2 separate regions of the Homo sapiens genome follow, and region 1 is linked to region 2. The links are contacts of gene promoters, found by promoter capture Hi-C in human tissues and cell types (Jung and others, 2019). All regions are on one chromosome and are shown on one strand. The core of a region is centred on a gene start or on the middle of the fragment in contact, and the rest is flanking DNA. Distances in the headings are between cores, read along the strand shown.

Region 1 (3,101 bases), core at 412-2,911, 98 kb before region 2:
GACAAAAATGCCTGCCCTCAAGTCGCTCAATTTTATAAGAAAAAATAAGGCAAAGTTTATTTTACTGTTGTGTTAATAATTAAATAATATAATATGACTTAACCCCACATCCCTTTACTCATTGTGTGTTTTAAAATTAGTATTTAAATTTGTAAGCAGTGAAGTACAAATTAAATATTATAAAAACCAACAAACTCTCAGTTAAGGGCGGAAGTACGCTGAGAGGCCTATAAAGATGAATGATGACGCAGGAATTGGAAGAAGTCGTGTTTGTCAGCTATTACCAAAAAGACCTGTTGGACCATGTGATGTTCAAGACCCTTCTACTTCTATAATTCTATACAAATAATTAGAAAATAACATCCTGGGCTTAATCGTGGACTCGGTTATCTACTTTACTTTTGACACTAAACCATTCTTCTGACATTTACCTTCAATTTAGAGGTTAGTAAAAGCAGATTTTATTAATTTTTCCTTATAAGTTCTTCTCCGAAATAACTCCTCCTTTTTCTCCTTTTAAAAAGTTGATAAATGGAATTGCTCAAGTCACATTTGATTCTGAAACAGCAGTCAAAGAACTGTCATACTACAGTTTAGAAGATTTAAACAACAAGTACCTTTATATTGCTGTAACAGTCATAGAGTCTACAGGTAAGTGTGTGTGTGTGTGTGTGTGTGTGTGTGTATACTTTCTTTTGAAAAATATTTAGACAGAATATTAAAGATATAAATAATTTCCAATTTCTATAATTATTTCACATTGTATTTTCTTTCATAGTTAAATATAATTATAAGAAGTAGACTTTTATATAGTTATAAAAAGGCAGTAGGGCTCTGCTTCTTTTTAGTCATTGGACAAGCCATTGGGTCCCTATTACCTCCACTTCTACTGCAAAAATGGGAAAACAGTACCCAATTCATGTCCAAAGTAGTTCTGCAGGCTCTCTGCCTTGACCATTTGGCACCCTAGTGTCCTCACGTGGTGAAAATCAAAACCAAAATAAGATTATGTGTGTAAAACTATTTGATAAAGTACTATACAAATAAAAGTTATTACTATTATCATTATTATAGTCTACATAATGATGGAGTCAAACTGAATGTTTCCTAAAGCCTAAAGTTTTCAACATTATTTTAATGTTTCTTCTTTTTATTTTTTCCTCAACTTATTTTAAATAAGTTCAGTTTAAGCAGTATCTATGAGATATTTAAAGTATTGCCAAACAGACAGGCTTGCAAACATTAATGATGTATGATGCCAGCACTAAAGTGGCTTACAAATTAGCATCAGGTATAAGACAGGTGAAGAAAGAACTGTTGCAAGAAAGAATTCCATATGAGCTCTAAGCAAAATATTAATGCAATAGGATTCAGAGGAAGGTGAGCTTCTAGATGATTGTTGAGCAAGCAAGAACAGTGTTGTGAAGATGATCAGTCTTGAAAAATAATTAGGGTTTTGAGGCAGAGTTGCTAGACAGGGTGAAATAGAAACCCTCCAGAGAGAGGGCAGATGAAGAAGAGTAGATGGTGAAGCTTAATCTTTGAGGACAGCAGATCATCCAGTTTGGCTAAAATATAGGATATGTATAGAATGTATTAGAGATGTAATATTGGAAAGGAGTTTGGGAATATTAAAGCTTCAAATGTTATTCTTAATAGTTTAACTTAATCTTTACCTGGAGGATAACATTATTGGGCTCTTGCCAGTTGTCTGGTCATGTCCCCTTCCCTCCCCCTCCCCCCTCCCGCTCCCCTCCCTCCCCTCCCCCTCCCCTCCCCCTCCCCTCCCCCTCCCCCCTCCCGCTCCCCTCCCCTCCCCCTCCCCTCCCCCTCCCCCCTCCCACTCCCCCCTCCCCCTCCCCCCTCCCCTCCCCTCCCTCCCTCCCCTCCCGAGTCTTGCTCTGTTGCCCAGACTGGAGTGCAGTGGTACAGTCTCAGCTCAATGCAACCTCCGCCTCCTGGGTTCAAGCAATTCTCCTGCCTCAGCCTCCCGAGTAGCTGAGATTACAGGCATATACCACCATGCCTGGCACTTTTTTTGTTTTCGTTTTTTAGTTTTAGTAGGGATGAGGTTTCACCATGTTGGCCCGGCTGGTCTCGAACTCCCTTTCAGGGTTCTTTCTATATCAAGCTCCCTTTTTCTGATTTCTCTCTATGTATCTATGCTCTGTGAACACCAACCCCCATCCCCCACCTCCACTTCTGTAAGGCTCAGTTTCTGGCCTGACCCTTCCCTCTCTCCTCAATCCCTTGAATACAGTCAACTGAAACTCAGGCCACTGATGAAAAGTGGTGTCCCTTCCTGGCATCCTTCCTCAGTCCAGTCCTGTAGCTCTACTTCTCCAAGGGCTTCTCTACATACGAGCTTGTGCATAAGGCCTTGGAAACTCCTGAGGTCTAAACTCTTCTCTGCTGTGCCCCTCTGAAGCAAGACCTATGTCCTACTTACTACTGGTAAATGAATGAATGCAAGAATGGAGTGAGTGAATGAATAAGTCTGTGGAGACATATAGAGATGAAATGGATATCCATACAGATCATGATACTCCTAAAAACTGTCAACATGATGCTTGCCATTTCCTTAGGTGGATTTTCTGAAGAGGCAGAAATACCTGGCATCAAATATGTCCTCTCTCCCTACAAACTGAATTTGGTTGCTACTCCTCTTTTCCTGAAGCCTGGGATTCCATATCCCATCAAGGTAGATTGGGTGAGGGGGTAGACGTTGCTACATATGATCATCTTGTTCTGTTCATGGAAAACATGTGGGTGGCAAACAGGGTAAGAATGTTGCCATGAAGTCACAGAGGGAGCTTATTCTGTGAAACCTGCCCCTCCTGGTGGACACAGACAGGGATGGGAAATTGAAGGTCAGCTGCAGCCTTGGCAATGACTTCAAAAGTGAGGGCAAGATAGCCTTGTATTAGGCATCCCTAAATAAGCATTAAATTACATGTAATAAATAAGCATTAAATTATATGTAAATAAAATCTCATAAGACTCTAGTTCAAAAATACAAACATTTAAAATTATTTGGTGGCAAATTCTTAAAAAGCCTTAAGATGGAGATATCATTCCTTGAAAATAGACTCCTTTCTCTC
Region 2 (2,962 bases), core at 357-2,856:
CATTTGGCGTCCCCGACATGCGTATACACTTGGAGAGATGATTCCCTGGAGATCCAAGTGCCTGTATAGACAATCTTTTCTAGAAGTTCTACCGTTAGGTGAGGCGAGAGTAGATGTAGAAATTGGAGACGAGAATAAAGAGTGTTTTAAAAGCGTGCGTGGTTACAGGACTGGCTCTGGGTTCAGGGGTCCCCACTCACTAGCTGTGAGACCTTGAACAAGTCGCTTAGCCTCTCTGTGCCTCAGTTTTCTCATCTGTAAGGTGGGGATGATGATGGCAATACCTGCTTCACAGAGTGAAAATTAGATGAGATGATGTCTGTAAAATTACGTAAGACGGTACCCAAAAGTAGTACTATTTTTCCCTTTTCTTATTAGAGCAGGTTGCGCACGTTTTGATGTCCGTGGGAATGAGCAGGTAGAGAGGGTGGTATTGAGGCCGGAGGGGAGAGAAGGGACCCACAGATGGGGAGAGAAGTCTTGGGTGCCTGTTTTATCCCAAACCAGGGGAAGGAGGGAACAGGTAGGGCTGGCTGCAGGAAAGCTTGCAGGTATGGGGTACACAGTTAAAAGGGAGTGTCTTCTGATAGTCTTGATGCAGGCCTGGAGGTCGTTTGTTATGGGGGTGGAGGTCCTGATGTACATTGTGGCGGTAAGATGCCGTGCTGTCTTTGCCACCAGCCTGTGGCAGCCCTGGTGTTACACCAGGGCAGGTGGGCAGTTTAATGTATCTCAGGCCAGATGACCTGCCCTGCCCACCTGTTGAGGCTCCAGTAGATAGACGTGAAAGCACAGTATAAGCATAATGCACCACTTTAATCCTTTTCTCTGAGGAGCTGGAAGGCCTGTAGTCACCATCTGAGCCAAATGTCATTCAAGTACTTCACTTGGGTTACACACCACACTTTGACCCACTATCTCATTTAGTCATCACAACAAATGGGTGAAATAGGTATTATTGTCCCATTTTACAGATGCAGAATCTGAGTTTCAGGGAAGTTAAGGACTTTGTCCCAGGGCCCACAGTTAGTAAGCAGTGGACCCAGGATTTCAACTCAGCTCTGTCTGACCTCAAAACCCATGATCTGAAACCACTGTGAAAGTTTGCAAAACCTCTGTAGCAGCCAAGCAGGATGGAAAGATGTGTAGGGATTGTCTTCTCCATTTGATAGATGAGACAAGAGCTGGGTACTCTGATCTCCATCCCAAGCACACAGAGCTTGGGGCCCCACAGCCCTGGTGTGAATCCCACTCCACTACCAGAGGCTGTGTGCCTTTGGACCAGGCATCTTGCTTCTCTGACCCTATATACAGCTGCAGAAGAATTCCTTGCAGGTTGCTGTAAGGATTTGGAGGGAAACTGTTGCCCAGCACACAGTACACATTCTGGGAGCCATCGTTTCCCCAGTGCACTTTTCCTGCAAATGTGGATCTACATCCCACTTGGATGCTGAGACCAGCTGCTGTGATCTTGCATTTGTTTAGCGCTTTGTTCTCCTTGAGGCAGTAAAGTGGTGGCACCTGACCGGAGCATGTAGCCACCTATGACTTCCTGAGTGGGGTGGTGTGGGGAGGGCCCTGAGGAGTCTGTGGTCCTAGGCCTTGGATTTCATCAGGGCTTTCCTGCTCCTTCTGGTTGCCTCAGTCCCAGGCAAGATAGGGTCCCAGAATCTTACAGCCCAGAGGCCACCTGTTGCAACTTCTTTTTTACAGATGGAGTCATCAGAACCCACTGTGAGGAAGTGACTTCTCCTTGAGGTCACCCAGACACTCCAAACAGAGCAGAGCAAAAGCGCCTAGAACTTGAAATTTTGGACCTGTCTCCAACACCCTGGGGATTTCCACCAGGAAGGTGAGCACCCCCACTGAGAATTCCAGGCTGCTCAGAGGTGCCAGGGAACACAGACCAGGGACCAGCTGTGGCCCCCTCCTCCGATGTGCCCAGGGAAGTGGGGGAAGCCAGCGGCAGCCTGCGATTCTCAACCAGGGGAACTCTCACTGTGCTTTCTGAGAGTCTGTGACACGGGTCATTTTCTCTGACTTGCTCTCTTGCTTTTTCTCACTCTAAAAAAAAAAAAAAATGACTGGACACTCCTAAAGCCTTCAGTCACCATCCAGGGGATTTTTATCGCCACAAAGGGTAATTCCTGCTCCATCCCTGCTGTGACTCAGCTGTGACGTTGAACCACACAAGCCAGAGAGAAGAAGATAAAGTCATCAGAGCTCCTACTCACCAGAGAGTGAGGCCCAGGCCAGGACTCCACAAGGCTGGTCCCCTGCCCTGGAGCAACTTAAACAGGCCCTCTGGCCAGCCTGGAACCCTGAGATGGCCTCCAGCTCAGGCAGCAGTCCTCGCCCGGCCCCTGATGAGAATGAGTTTCCCTTTGGGTGCCCTCCCACCGTCTGCCAGGACCCAAAGGAGCCCAGGGCTCTCTGCTGTGCAGGCTGTCTCTCTGAGAACCCGAGGTGAGGTGATGGAGGAGCGGAGGGTGGGCAGAAAGTGGGTGCCAGGGAGGGACCCCTGATGGGAGGTGAGGGGCAGAGGAGCCTGTGACTTCAGGCGGTGACTTTTCTTCTCTGGGCCTCAGTTTCCACACCCTTTTCTCACACTCCCTGACACTGCCCCTCTGGCTGTGGTGGAAGGAGAGGAAGCCACAGAAAGGCATCAGCTCCCACAGGGGAAAGCCATCCACACCGAGGAGAGCCTCGAGGCTGTGAGGCCACTGTCTCACTGTGTGGTCTGGTGCTCTGCTAATGTCCCTAAGCCGCAGCTCGCTTGTCTGTAAAGCTGTTTTCTGTGTCATAGAATTGTTAATGAAGCCCAATGAATAATAATCACAAAAGTCCTTATAATAACAAATATAAACCTCTTGGTGAATGACAAACTGTTAGACGAATATCTCTCCTTCCACAGCATTGCTCATCACCTCAGACCGTTTGCTGGGAACCCTTTTGGAGGGGA

What was found. Contacts are between HindIII fragments. The study calls those that stand out against the background at their distance.
Region 1: a contact is called between a fragment that was not itself captured here and the fragment with the promoter of TRAF1 in region 2, in 2 of the 25 tissues and cell types used here (aorta and dorsolateral prefrontal cortex).

Annotation. Positions count from the first base shown.
Region 1 is chr9:121,023,004-121,026,104 of GRCh38, reverse strand. C5 (complement C5) reads left to right here. Exons shown (of 41, transcript NM_001735.3): 9 at 525-651; 10 at 2,586-2,701. Among named protein-coding and RNA genes, the nearest start is that of C5, 26 kb to the left of the region's middle. The HindIII fragment of the contact is 5,266 bases long and covers 1-3,101 here.
Region 2 is chr9:120,925,440-120,928,401 of GRCh38, reverse strand. TRAF1 (TNF receptor associated factor 1) reads left to right here and starts at 1,606. Exons shown (of 8, transcript NM_005658.5): 1 at 1,606-1,852; 2 at 2,101-2,466. The coding sequence starts at 2,327. RefSeq lists enhancers at 1,328-1,647, 1,988-2,327, 2,788-2,857, 2,454-2,962. The HindIII fragment of the contact is 9,494 bases long and covers 1-2,962 here.